Linked DNA regions of Homo sapiens: regions 1 and 2 are each linked to region 3. The links are contacts of gene promoters, found by promoter capture Hi-C in blood cells and fetal thymus (Javierre and others, 2016). All regions are on one chromosome and are shown on one strand. Each heading gives the region's core, a stretch centred on a gene start or on the middle of the fragment in contact. The rest is flanking DNA. Distances are from core to core; before and after follow the strand shown. Region 1 overlaps SOWAHA (sosondowah ankyrin repeat domain family member A). Region 2 holds the start of LEAP2 (liver enriched antimicrobial peptide 2). Region 3 holds the start of IRF1 (interferon regulatory factor 1).

The links. Contacts are between HindIII fragments. The CHiCAGO score rates a contact against its expected background, and 5 or more counts as called.
Region 1: a contact is called between a fragment that was not itself captured here and the fragment with the promoter of IRF1 in region 3, in 5 of 17 cell types (fetal thymus, monocytes, total B cells and 2 more). The highest score is 8.6, in fetal thymus.
Region 2: a contact is called between a fragment that was not itself captured here and the fragment with the promoter of IRF1 in region 3, in 1 of 17 cell types (monocytes). The highest score is 5.5, in monocytes.

What each region holds. Positions count from the first base shown.
Region 1 is chr5:132,815,552-132,820,420 of GRCh38, forward strand. It overlaps SOWAHA (sosondowah ankyrin repeat domain family member A), which reads left to right. Exons shown (of 1, transcript NM_175873.6): 1 at 1-1,235. Among named protein-coding and RNA genes, the nearest start is that of SOWAHA, 4.7 kb to the left of the region's middle. RefSeq lists a silencer at 4,737-4,816. The HindIII fragment of the contact is 2,985 bases long and covers 2,128-4,869 here.
Region 2 is chr5:132,870,047-132,874,420 of GRCh38, forward strand. LEAP2 (liver enriched antimicrobial peptide 2) reads left to right here and starts at 3,622. Exons shown (of 3, transcript NM_052971.3): 1 at 3,622-3,705; 2 at 3,904-4,043; 3 at 4,364-4,374. The coding sequence starts at 3,649. The HindIII fragment of the contact is 1,651 bases long and covers 497-2,147 here.
Region 3 is chr5:132,489,482-132,493,818 of GRCh38, forward strand. IRF1 (interferon regulatory factor 1) reads right to left here and starts at 1,292. Exons shown (of 10, transcript NM_002198.3): 1 at 1,064-1,292; 2 at 1-2. RefSeq lists silencers at 124-173, 704-983, 1,244-1,693 and enhancers at 165-812, 1,834-1,973, 2,107-2,752, 2,244-2,453, 2,494-2,543. The HindIII fragment of the contact is 1,939 bases long and covers 1-1,782 here.

The DNA.
Region 1 (4,869 bases), core at 2,370-4,869, 330 kb after region 3:
TAAGGGGCAGCAGCTGGTCTGGCCCCTGAAAGCCTTCACCTGATGCCTCTGCAGCTACACAATCCCAAGACAGAGCTAGAGCAAGGGTCTCTTTAAATGTTGAAAGATGTTAGGTTGTCAGCTTTAAGATATGTGGTGGTTTTGTAATTTGATGCTTTTATTCTGTTTTTAAATTGAAATGAGGTAATGCAACTTTCGTAATAACCTTTTGGAATTATATTTTTCCACTTTTAGGCAAAGTGCTTAGACATTTTCAATTTTTTTTTTGCTAAATACTTTGGAATTCTATTTAAAAAATAGATGATCAAGATCTAAAGGAAATTAATCCCAACCAACAAACTTAAAAGTTTATCTACCTCGTTTTAGGCAATCAAGATTCTGGAGAGTCTTGAACACAGAATAACGATTGTGACCATTATGAATGTAACTAATTTCAGTTGTACTGTGAATGCTAAATATTTGCAAACAAGTACATCTTGAAAGTAAAGGTGACTTAGAGAAAAGAGACATTTTGACAGATACTTTTAATTTGTGGTTGTCTCCATCATGAAATAGAAACGTGTTTGGCACTTGTGGGTGGCTATTTTGATTTGGCATGACTACTTAATTTTTTAAAAAAATTGTGGTTTGTGAATTGCACCTTTGTGCCATGTTTCTGAATCTGGTTTTCAAATCCAGTGGAGCCTTTCAGTGAAATAGGTGACTATTAAAAAAGTAATAGTATTACAGAAAAATGAGCGATTAAATAGTAATGGATACAATTAAGGAGCAACTATTTTATATGACTGTTCTGTACAAACAAAAAGTATGTAATACCCATTTTAAAAAACCATTTGAAAGTAGACAACTTATTCCAAAATAGCAAATGCAGAATCTCTGCTCAGTGAGCTTGGATGAGTGGCTTAACTTCTCTGGGCCTTTGTTCCTATCTGTAAATGAGAAAGTTTGTAGATATTGCCAAGATTTCCCAGGCTCAATACAGTGTAATTATTTTATGTTTTAAAGATATGAAATCTGTTTACTCAACCAATTTTTTAAATGTCATATTGTGATAATGCTCTGCTTTTGCAAATTGTGTTTGCATGTCATTAGTTATATCAAATAGTTTTGTGGCATGGGGTAGTGGAGCTTCCCTCCCCACCCCCATATGTATCAGTGAAGCCTTTGAAATTACTTAAGGCAGTCTTTCATGGAATGTTTTGATTGAGCAATGAAATAAACAGTCCTCCATTTTGTTTCTGCTTGAGTGGTGATGTACTTCCCTTAAAAATTGTACAGTTTTTGCTATTGTATTTTTCTTTTCTTTTTATCTAATTTCCTTCATTCTTCTGCCTCTTTCAAGCATTCTGTTATTGAAAGAAGTTGGATTGCTCTGCAAAGTAAAGGAGTCAACCACACATGGATATCGTAATGGAGAACTGTAGATAAATGTGGGCCCTGATGTGACCTTCCCACCTTCCTTGCCTGGAACTCTGCATAAATTATTTTAAAATGCAAATTAAATCTTCTGCCTCTGCTGAAAAATTGTAGGAGACACAATTATAGCAATTGGAGTAGCTGACAGTCTAGAAAACAGAATAAAATACTAGAGATTTTCCATGGTAAAAGAGACACCTGACTCAGACAGGGCCTCAGACAAAGGTCACAGACACAGGTATGACCTGCCTTGATAAAGACAACGTTTAAACCAGCAAAGTAGTAATAACAATAACTAATGTTTATTGCACACTTAAATCAGAGGAGGGTCATTTGAACTGCCAGAAGAATCTATGTGTTTCAGAAGAGTGTGCTGCAAGCCTTCCAAGTGAAGTAAAACATTTAGCAAGAGTTTAGGATCAATATACCTAAAGCTCAGGTGTTAGAAAACACTGCTTTTCCTTGCAGGCCAAAGCTTTCTGCAACTATAAGGTAAGCCGATAAGAAATTATAGTTTCATACGCATAGGGAAAGTTTTTAAGAATCATATATCACCTAGCAGGAGGCACACCGTTAGAAGGGTATTTTCAACACTAACAGAAAATAATTGTGAAGGCAATTTAGCTGACAAGAATTGTCACAGGGACGAAATCACGCCTTTTAATGAGGGAGAATTGTTGATGTAGATGGGTATGAGTCGTATCCATAGCAAGCTTTTAAGTAAAGTTTTACATATCCTTTAATGGAGGTTGGAGGTTATTCTTAAGCATGTCTCCCTTACCTAATGGAGATCCAGGGTAATGCATATACTGTATAACCTGTGCTGATTAAGTGCCAGGCACAATTCGAAACACTTTGCAGGTATTAATCGCAAGTTTATAAGGTATGTACTATTTGTATCTTGATTTTAAAGTGAGGAAACTGAAGCCTAGAGAAGTCATAAGTTACTTGTCTAGGCCTCACAGCTAGTAAATGCAGAGCTGGAATAGTCTCCTGGTTCTCTTTTTCATGACACTGTCTGCTATCCTATTGCAGGAAGCAGGGTGGGCTCATCTCAGCCCTTTTTACTCATTTAGTGTCTTTGGGCAAGTCACCCAGCTCCCCAAACTCCATCTTCCCTGTCTACGGGACAAAAGGCTTCCTGTACCTATTTCACAGGCTGTGGGGGAAGGAAGAGCACGTAGAATGAGTGGATAGAGCTCTTTATGAACTGCAACACCAATGTGGGGTGCCGAGTTGGTTCCAGGGGGTAAATGGCTGCATCCCAAAACCAAATAGCTCTGATTTGTGGATCTGCTTTACATGATCATTCTTTCTTTTTTTTTTTTTCTTTTTTGAGATGGAGTCTCGCTCTGTCACCCAGGCTGGAGTGCAGTAGTGCAATCTCAGTTCACTGCAACCTCTGCCTCCCGGCTTCAAGCGATTCTCCTGCCTCAGCCTCCCAAGTAGCTGAGATCACGGGCACGTGCCACCATGCCTGGCTAATTTTTTGAATTTTTAGTAGAGATGGGGTTTCACCATGTTGGTCAGGCTGGTCTCAAACTCCTGATCTTAGGTGATCTGCCTGCTTTGGCCTCCCAAAGTGCTGCGATTACAGGTGTGAGCCACCGTGCCCTGCCATGATCACCATTCTTTTAACATGTTGGTGATTGTATACATAAGTAACAATCGACTCTACTAGGAAAAATGTATTCCCACAAGAGGGAAATTATCCCATATTCTGTACATGATATCACTTTAGTTAAAATAGAAATAATGTCTTTCTAAACTCACATTCCTCTAGCATTCCTACTCCTACCTTCCAGACCTAACCACTGCTATTCAGCCACCTGAGCTGGAGTGCAATGGTGGGATGTCGGCTCACTGCAACCTCCGCCTCCCTGGTTCAAGCGATTCTCGCTTGAAACGATTTCCGTGCCTCAGCTTCTCGAGCAGCTGGGATTACAGGCGTGCACCACCACGCCTGGCTAATCTTTTGTTAGAGACGGGGGTTTCACCATGTTGGCCAGGCTGGTCTCGAACTCCTGAGCTCAGAACTCCTGAGCTCAGGCAATTAGCCCGCCTCGGCCCCCCAAACTGCTGTGATTACAGGCGACAGTCAGCCTGTATTTATAGGCGCCTGGCCTATACTTAGATTCTCTTTTGCTCTCCAGATAGCCTTTTGCCTTGAACCCGCCTCACCTGTTTGGAACTGCCACACCTCCAGACTTCAACCTGGGGCCGGGGTGCCTCAGGTGTGCCTGCAGGGAAGAAAAAAGAAAGCAGAGACATCGAGATCTAGATTCTCTCCTCAAAGAAAAAAAAATCCTCCTCGTGGGAAGTGGGTGCTGATTTAAACATCAAAGACAACAGGTAAACGTCCATTGTGACCTTCCACGCTGTAGCTAGGCTGACAGCAACACTATGGGGTCCTCAGCAATTGCCGCCTCCCGCCTTCCTGCGCCCCCAAATGCCCCTTTCACCTGTTTCTCTCTGCAGCCCTCAAACACATTTGACCTAAATTTCCTGAGCTCCTGGTTTACATGTGAATGCACAGCACGGCAATTTGTTCCAATGAGGAGCCCTGAGGTTTGCGCCAGCCGCTCTCAGGGGTAAGTTTTGTGCCGAGCAGGATGTTCAAGACAGACTGCGCGCCGGTTTCGGGCACCGCCGAACATGGCTTCCCTGTTCCGTTTCTAATTTACAGCCTGAAGGTAAAAAGTACACTGATTAAATCCATGTTAGGAGGAGCAGCGGGGGCGGAATAAGCGAGCTGGGGAGGCGGCCGCGGGGCTGCCTGTTGCCCAGCAACGATGCCAGCCGCGGCCTGTGCTCCCCCAAAAGCCCGAAAGCACCGCGGCAGGCAGCCAGGAAGGAGGATGGGGCAGGGGTGCCGGCGGCTAAAGGAGATGGGGGCGCAGAAACCCCTATAGGGACCCATGCAACCCGCTTTCTCACCCTGGGAGACTACGCAAGGCTTTTTTGTTTTTTTTTTTTTGTTTTTTTGATACTTATGTTCGAAATCAAAAAGTGCACTGATCGAATCCGTATTAGGAGGATATGATTTAATCAGTGTACCGTTTAAATCCCCCCACACCCCTCCCCCCGACTGCCCTCTCTCCCACTTCTCATTGGCCAGCAACTTTCCAACAAAGGCCCAGTGGCAAAGACAGCCAGCCTTTCCCTGCCTGGCTGGTCAGTTTCTTTCTGAAAGAAGCAAAAGGCTCAGCTCCAGCTTTCGGGCCTAACTGCTCAGCAGGGCAAGTCAAAGTCCCTGTGGCTGGCCCAGAGGGCCTGGTAAGCTGGAGAAGCTGCGAATGGCGAAGCGTAGGTACCAGCTTTCACCATTAGGACAGCGCCCTCTGCTGGCAGTATCCTGAAGGGTCAGTTCACCGGGCTTCTGGTCCCCACAAAGTCTTGAAGTCTGAGGTGCTGATAACGGAACAAATGTGGTGAGCTCATTCTTGCCCTCTG
Region 2 (4,374 bases), core at 72-2,571, 380 kb after region 3:
AACTCTTCTACCTCACCCCCAAAAGACAGTCCAATTTTCCCATTTGCCTCTTTGTCCAGATTTATTCCCAGGTCTTGCAACATATTTGGGTCATAGACTTGAGAATGATGAAAACTGTGGACCCATCCTTACCTTGCATAGCTTCAAAGAGTTCACAGCCCAGAGGAGGACCACTGCTTTGAGAGGCCGTTAATGTCTTTCTCCCTCTGGTGTTTGCCCCAACCCGCCGAAGTAGACGGCCACCCTCTCCCATCTTGCTCACCTTGTTCTACACTTAGACTATTTCTCCCTGGTTCTTTGACTCCTTTGGAGAGACCAGCTCAAAAGATCCAAATCCCTTTTCTCAGCCCAAACCAGGCACCAAGCCTATTCTTTTTATTCCAGGAGTGCTCTACTGAGATGACTCTGCCGTAAGCCCTGTGATGTGTGGAGCTTCTGCTTTGGATGAAATTAGTCTGCTTTAAGCCTGTGTCTCATCAAAGGGCTTCCCTCTCTAAGCTTGGGGAAATGGATCTCACCTGTGTGGCAGGAGTGCTGAGGTGGTGGGTGTGTGGAATGTGGTGAGTTTTAGTAGTTCAGTGCTCCTATACATGACCTGGGATCATTTTAGGGGACATTTGCAGAAATCCTCAGAGGAGAACCTGAGTAAAACCTTTGAAGGAAAGACAGCTGCTGTGGGCTTCAGTGCTGGTAACCCATCTGGAGCCTCCAGTCCTGGGTATGGATCCCTTACCTGCTACTCTGGCACAACCATTTGCTCCATTTGACCTTTCTTTTTCCAAATGCTCCTGCCCCCACAAGCGTTTTTATCTATGGGCTGCAGAGTCTGATGAAAGGAATGCCCTTGCTCTTTTAGTTTGCAGGCAGTCCTCAAAATGCAGGCCTAAGGTAGGCCCAAAAGTCTATGCCAGTTCCAGCTAGCAAAAAAGCAAATACACCTTGACCTTTTGTTGAAATTTTACCTGGTAAAGTTTTTCCATTTCAGAGTCTTTCATCTTTTATTAGGCACCTCCTGCTTAGGGACAGCAAAAAGTTTCCAATTACTGCCAACTCCTAGTGATCGACCTGGAATGTGTTTCAAACAGCTGCTCATGTAGCTATACCCTCTTTCTCCCATTTCATCCTAAGCATTTGCCTCAGAAGCATAAAATCTCTTGAGAGTTGTATCCAGAGTTACCAAGCTCTCAGCTATCAAATCTGCTTCAGTCTCATTTTCTTCTTGTAAATTAGTCATTTGAACCCCCAAACTGACAGAATAGGAGACTAAAGCCCAAAAAGGGGAAGGGCTGGCCTATGGGCAGTTGCACTCTGTAGACCCCAGGCTACTGCTTACCAGCCAAGCATTCTACCTTCTTACGGCTGCAACTGTTAAAGGCTACTTAGGCCTTTCTATTGGATGAAGGAGCATGCAGTTACGTGTATATTCACTGAGCAAAATACTTGATTGTAGAATCCATGAAATTTTTTTTTTTTTAATTTCAAGAAGAGGCCTTCACAGTCTCTCAAGTATGGGATGGCTGTGGACAAATACTGCCAATTCAGCTAACTGCTGCCTGGATGTTGCTTTGAGTTTGATTTTTGCTCCATACTTAACTAAAACAACTAGCATTCACGTAGACATGTTAAAATACTTTCCCCTTCCCCAACAGTGGTTCCTTCCACAGACAGTGACTAATGGTTTTTTCTTTTGGGGAGAGGGTGGCATACAACATAGAGGCTTGAACCAAAGGCCTCTGCAATGTTGTCACACTCATGAGGATGAATGGTCCTTTCCGCCTACACACAGAGGGGCAAGGGCTTCAAGCTCTTTCTTTCCTTGACTGTGTTATCAGCTTTACAAATTAACACCATGCTAGTTTGATCCTGCTAGAAGTACAGGAAGGCAGAAATGGAGGATTAGGAGAATTACTCATCTTTTGGATGAACAGTTTCCAAATCCCATTTGGCACATCACTCTAGACTGGTAAAGGGGAGGCTGACACTGAGGCCACAGACCCAACTGGCTCTAGGACATCACGTTGTTCAGTCCTTTGCTTATCTAATCATTTGTGTTCTTACCCAGTGCTCACTAGGTCACCCACATAGCCACTTCCCCTCCCAGCAAAAGTTCCCAGTTTAGGCACCTGTCTGGGATCATCCAGTATCCAAGCTTAGGGGTGAAGGGAGGGAGCAGAGAACTAGTCTCAACTGGTTCGTTGGTATATAGGTCTCTTCTCAATGTTCCTAAAGTGCATGCAGTGGCATCCCCCTCAAGGCCTGGCTCCATGATTCTGAGAGGACTAGAATCAGGACAGTCAGATCTGTGGTCACATCCTGCCCAATTCCAGCTCTGAGGTCCATCAAACCATCTGCTTCTCCCTTGGCAAGAAGCTCCCTCTGTCTGACTGGCAGCAGGGTCAGTGGCCATCCTTTTCTACCTTCAGCTGTTGTGCATCTCCTCCACGTTTTCCTGGAGTAAAGGAACAAGCAGGTTCTTATCCAAATACCCAACCTGTGAAGATGAGACGGCCCTTGGGAAGAGGTATTAGCCAAGTTTTCAGTATGATGCCCGGCAGAAAGAATTTGTTGTCTTTGTCTTAAGCTTATTATCCTCCCAGGTCATAGGAAGATCTAAAGTCCAATCAGTCTCCTTACTCAGAATTCACAGCTTTCCCCTCAAACTTAAAATGCCCATGTCATTTCACGAGTACCCATAACTACCCATCGTTTAGATACATGTCCTCCCTTGGTCTAGAAATCTGCAGCAGTTCCTACTTAAACTGATGGATGCTTTGGGCTTTGGAGGTATCTCATCCCTATGCCTGTTGCCCTGAAGCTGCCGGAAGGAAAGGCCCCACTCAACTACTGGGAAGAAAGCCCATAATTCAAGGCTTTTAATACAGTCACTACACAAGCTCTCCCTCTGATTTAGGAGATCTTGTTACCTCCTCATCTACATGTGCTTAAAAACAAAAAGAAACCTATAATTATTCAATTCACCTGTGGTCCAAATAAGTCTCACATCCAGCCATTCCCCTGAGAGGGCAGGAGGCCAGACTTTGAACTTTCCACAGCTGGGTCTTCATTTTACTAGTGAGATAAAGAGGTGCAGATTAGGGTGACAGTCCATCTAAGCAAGTGGACGATCTGGGGAACTGTAGGCCTTGCTGAAGCATCCTCCCACAGAAAGGAGATAAGGGCCTTATCCAATTGGCTGTACACAATAGATCAGTGCTTCTTTCCTAGACAAGGCTGAAAGGGGCCAACATTATTTCTGAAGACTTCATTATTGGAATTCTATGGGAGTGATCTCACTGAGCTATTTTGGAATAGAAATGTGGCTAGTTGCCTGACCTCCCTCAATGGTTTCACGTGGCTTTCAAAGGGAAGGAAGGGCAGTGCTGACTTTTGGTAAAATGGGCGAAAGGGTCCATGCCAGCAACACAATCACTCAAAGTCCAGATGAGGGATCAGTAAATACAACGTGCCTGAAAGGTGGCCCTTGAGCACATTCCTCCGGTAGACATTAACTTATTAAATTGATTCTGATTACAAATATAAACTTTGCCCCCATCTCACCCAGTAACAATGCAAGAGTTGATGTCAGTCTATAAAAGGAAGTAGGAACTGTCCCTGGCTTTCAGGCTCCAACATCCTCCCCCTGTCAAGATGTGGCACCTCAAACTTTGTGCAGTCCTCATGATCTTCCTGTTGCTGTTGGGCCAGGTAAGGAGGGAAGGATACTTATGTGTGTGTGTGGAGTGTGGAGATGATAGTGGTGGTGGAACTTGAAAGCTAGATTCAGTCCTGAGGAATGGTTCCTCTGTTCTGAGTCTACAGCATCTGCGGAATGGAATGATCACTCTTCCAAGGTGTGCAGCAGGGTGTCAACACTTTCATATCTGAATGTCTTTGCCCTTACAGATAGATGGCTCCCCAATACCAGAAGTGAGTTCGGCAAAGAGAAGGCCACGGAGAATGACCCCATTTTGGAGAGGGGTTTCCCTCAGGCCTATTGGAGCCTCCTGCCGGGATGATTCTGAGTGTATCACAAGGCTATGCAGGTACTCCCTGAACCTGGGAGCAGGGTTGGGCCAGAGAGCCCTGGGAAGCTGGGCAGAGGAGTGACAAGGGGACACATGAACCTAAGAATAAAGCTGGGATGGAGGAGTTCTAGACTGAGACTGGGAGCTCCATGGAAAATCCCTTAGGAGTTAGGAGCCAAGAACAGCTCTATGTGGGTACCATGAAAGAGTGGTGCCTTTCCATTCTTCAGTCTTTCCTGAGACTGGACAGATCAAGCAAAGAGGAAGGAAATGCAGCATAGGTGGCCCTGGTCATTCCTAGACCCAGTCTTAAAAAACTACCCTTTCTTTTCCCCTAGAAAAAGACGCT
Region 3 (4,337 bases), core at 42-2,541:
GGCTGTAAAGAGAACACAGAGGCTCCAGTCTGGAATCTGTTGAACAGTACCTGGGCAGTGACCTGCCCCACCCGAGGTCACTTAGTTACCCTCCCCTCACCTCAGCCAGCTGCTAGGTACTACACTCAGTGCGGAGGGGAGCTGCGCTGGAATAAAACTGCTCTCCAAATTTTTTCAGCATCTTAGGCAAAAATGCTTTTGCCCCTTCCTTCAGCCCCTCCCAGCCAGTCTCTGGAGGAGACAGGCATGCAAGTGATGGCTTCAGGATTCATATGCAGGAAAAGAGACAAAATGCACAGATACCCTAATTTCAGAACTTTTCGCTCAAAATTCAAATCCTTTGGGAAGGGAGGGACTTCTTTTGCTTGATGCCAAGAAGAAATTCCCTTGACTTGAGTTGTAACCACTAGCTAGCAAAGGGCTAGCCGTCACCCTGAACAGCCCCCTCCCGCCCCCCTGAATCCATTCTACGCCTTCCTGACAGCCACAGCGCCCACAACGCTAAGACCAGGACGCTAACCCTTCCGGCCCGGTTTCCCCTCCTCTGGAGAAGTGGCCCAAGGAACACCTGTGGCGCCTCTTCCCGCAGTCTCCGTAGGTCACGATTCCCTCCAGCCACCTGGGCAGTAAGCCAGCCCTTGCCACCAGCACAGGGAGCCCAAAACCTGTCGCCTGGGCGCGGAGCTGGGACCGCCGAAAGCCGGGAGCACTGGGCGCCCACGCGTGGGCTGACACTCGGTCCCCGGCACGGCGTGTGGATGCGCGGGACGAACATAGCGGGCCACCTACAGGCCCCTGGCGGCTGCGCGCACGCAGATCTGCGAAAGCTGCCGGGCGCCGGCAGCCTCGTCCGGGTGGGCGGTCCACGCCGCGTCCCGCCCTCCCCGCGCCGCGGCCCGCGGCTCGCAGCTCCTCCGGCGCCCCCCGGAGCCCGCGCGGAGGCCCGGGCAACGCCGCGCGCCGGCGAGTCTCCAGCCTGGAGCTTTCGACCCCCCACTTCCTGGTGCCCCGCGCGCCTTTTATTCGACGCCGCCGGTGCCCCGCGCCTCAAAGGCGTACTCACCTCTGCTGCAGGAGCGATTCGGCGGTCGCGCGCGAGGGTCCCGGCGACGCAGGGGCTGCAGTGAGGGCGCGCGGAGCGCGACTCCGAGTGGAAGAGGGAAGAAGGCAGAGGTTGCCGGGTTCTTAAGGCCGCCGGGCACGGCCGGCGTGGACTGGGCACGGCTCCGGGTGGCCTCGGTTCGGCGGGGCTCGGGCGCACGTCTTGCCTCGACTAAGGAGTGGCGAGCTCTGCCAGGGCAGCGGCGCCACCGAGCAATCCAAACACTTAGCGGGATTCCCCAGCCCTGGCCGGCCCCGCCCCCGGACAGCCGCGCGGGCGCCCATTGGCCGGCTGCGTGCCGTCATTTCGGGGAAATCAGGCTGTTGTAGAGCTAGCGGCGAAGGGGAAGTACAGGGCGGCTGCTCCGCCCCACCCTCTCCGGCCGGGCGCCACCGCCCCGGGGCCACCGCGGGCCCGCCCCGAGCGCTCCCAATCCACCCCTGCTCCGGCTTGCCCGGAGGAGGGCTGCCCGGGACAGCCCAGCGCCCCTGGCCCCAGCCTGTCCTCTCACTCCGCCTTGTCCCAGCCGGCTGGCTCCTGGGGCCATCTTTTCACCCTCCTGGCGGGGCGGGGGCGGGGGTATATCTCCCGAACGCAGGTGAGGGGATCGCCCGGGCACTTGCCGCCCTCTCCAGTGGGAACACTGGGCCGAATCTCCCGACTGGCAGCCTGGCTCCTCAAGCTTGCCAGTGGGATATCAAGAAGGGAGGGTTTCAGTCCTAGCACTACCCCTGTTTTTAGGGGTGACCCCCTCCCTCCAGGTCACTCACCTGCCCTGGGGAAGTGAAGAAGGCAGAAAGCCTACCCTGCCCCGTGTGCTGTCTGGGGCTGCTGGACCAGGGGAAATCCCAACTTGGCCGCTGCTGGCACAGCCCCCAAGGGACGCAGGACCTCTGTTTTTCAACCATAAAATAATAGTAGCCCTACCTTGATGGTTTGCTGTGATGGGAAGAGATTGTAAAGCACTATGCTCCACTCGGGCAACAGACGCTGAGTAGTTTTCAAGGTCGCCGTTGCAGGGTCTAATAGTGACCAGGATGACACCCCACCCCTTTTCGGTCTGCCTCCCTGGGACTCCCCCTGGCTGGCTTTAGGGAACAGAGGAGGAGAAGGGGTTCAGAGAAGCCCAGACGGCTGAGTGAGGGTAGGGGTGGGCTAGCTCTGATCCCTCCTAGCACTCTTGCCTCAGGCCGCCTCCAGAGCCTCCCTGTGGCCCGCGTATGGGAGTTCCGCAATGGAAGCATTGCTGTCATCTCTGAGTCCCCAGGGCTTGGCCCAGAGAGGTTCTGGGCAGCATGGAGGAATTAGCTCAGGGCTGATCAACGCCATGGGGCTAGCCAAAGGGTTGGGGAGCCCAGGTCCCATGCTCCTTGGTAAGGCCCCTACTTAACTCTCGCGCACAACTAGTCCCCGCCCCACGTATAGTCCTAGAGACTTGACTGGGTGTTCATTTTCCATCCAAAACTCTGGCCCAGGAGGCTTCTTCCTTCATCTCCCTAAAGCTCCTGCAGAAGTAAGTTACTCTCCCAGGCGTGTCATTTCCTTCACCCCAGCTCTCCCTCCAGGGCAGCACCCCATTTTGCAGGCTATAAATAGACACACCCATGCAACATTCGACTTGCCAGTCACTCTACCTCCCTCCCGTAGAGGAAATGCATGGGTTAATCCCATTCTGGCGCATTGCAATCTGAGTGCTGTGACCAATGCCAAACCTGGTTCCCAGGATACCAGCAGGAATGGGCAAAACTGTCTACCAGATAGAGGTGGGTCAGGAGCTAGGAGAGGAAAGGAGGTAGGAGAAACTGAGGAAGGAACCTAACTGAGTGTTAAGCAAAGTGGAGGGCAATGACACTCTGGAATGGAAAGGTGGGTTTTGGGGTACTTTAAGTGACAAATGGAAGTGGGGACTTGCTACAGGGACCAAGACCTTCTGAGCAAGAATAAGAGAAAACAAGTGACCCCTGAGTCGTGGGATCCTTTCTTGGTACAGCAAATAGATGCTTGTCCTTCCCCTGAGAACCTGACACATCCACTGGAAAATTCAGGATGAGATTAGGGAAAGGAAGTTTGCATCTTTGTGGTCTGATAAGTTGACCACAGTGACCCTGTGAAGGCAACAGGACACTATAAAAAATGCTTTAAAACAAAAACTTAATTTTAATTCACAGATACAGGTATAAATATACCCGTATATGCATATGTATATTTAGCCATAATGAGCATCTTTCCATGTCATGAAATGTACTTATGCAATGTCATTTGTAATAGGTATACATTATTCTTTCACAAGGATAAATAAAAATTTACCCAATTAATCCCCTATTGTAGGACAGTTAGGTTATTTCCATTTTTTCGTAATACAAACAACACTATTAGCTAAATCTTTGTGCATATCAATAATTTTTTGCTTAGGAGAAATTCCCCAGTTAGGATTTACCAATGAAACTGTCATTTACATTTACATCTTTGACCTTTTTTTTTTTTTTAACCTTAGGGATTCTTACTTTATTTTGAAGCCTGTAAGAATATGCTTATTATGACTAGGGGTGCTATACTCCAAATCAGTGAAATAAAGCTAAGCCATGTTTAAGTACCCAACATTTTTATTGTAATGGCTTTTGATGAATCACATTCTAAGATGTAGAACATTCTGTGATCCCCAGCAGAACACATAGGCTCCTGTAGGCTCTTATTAATTCGGAGCCAGCCCTTTTCTTTCCCACCTGGTCTTCTGGGTCTTCCTTCCCTGTATCGGGTTGTGATTTCATAGTCCAGGACCAGACTATTGTTGCCCCAACCTCCCCTTGGGCCTCCTTGCCTTGCCCAGGTAGATGGGGAAGATGGTGCCTCTGCACTGGAATGATCTCCCTAACTCGGATGATCTCCCTAACACTCGGGGCCACCCAGGAGCCTTCTGAGCTCCCCTACATTCAGCCCCACATTCAAATCTCTGCTCAGTCTTGTCCTGGGGTCCCATTCCAACCTTCTGTCCCTGACAGCTTCCCTACCCTTGGCAGTAGGGAAGATGAAACTAAAGGGGGATGAAAAGAGAACACAGGATTTGAGTCTGAAAGCCTGGGTTCTTATTGTGCTTTTTCCACTTGCTATGTGATCTTAGCAAGTTACTGTCCCTCTCTGGGGCTCAGTTTTCTCATCTGTAAAATAGAGATAATCTCTCTCCATCTCTCCTAATTGTAAAATTAGACTATCAAAATTATTTCCAAACTGTAAGACA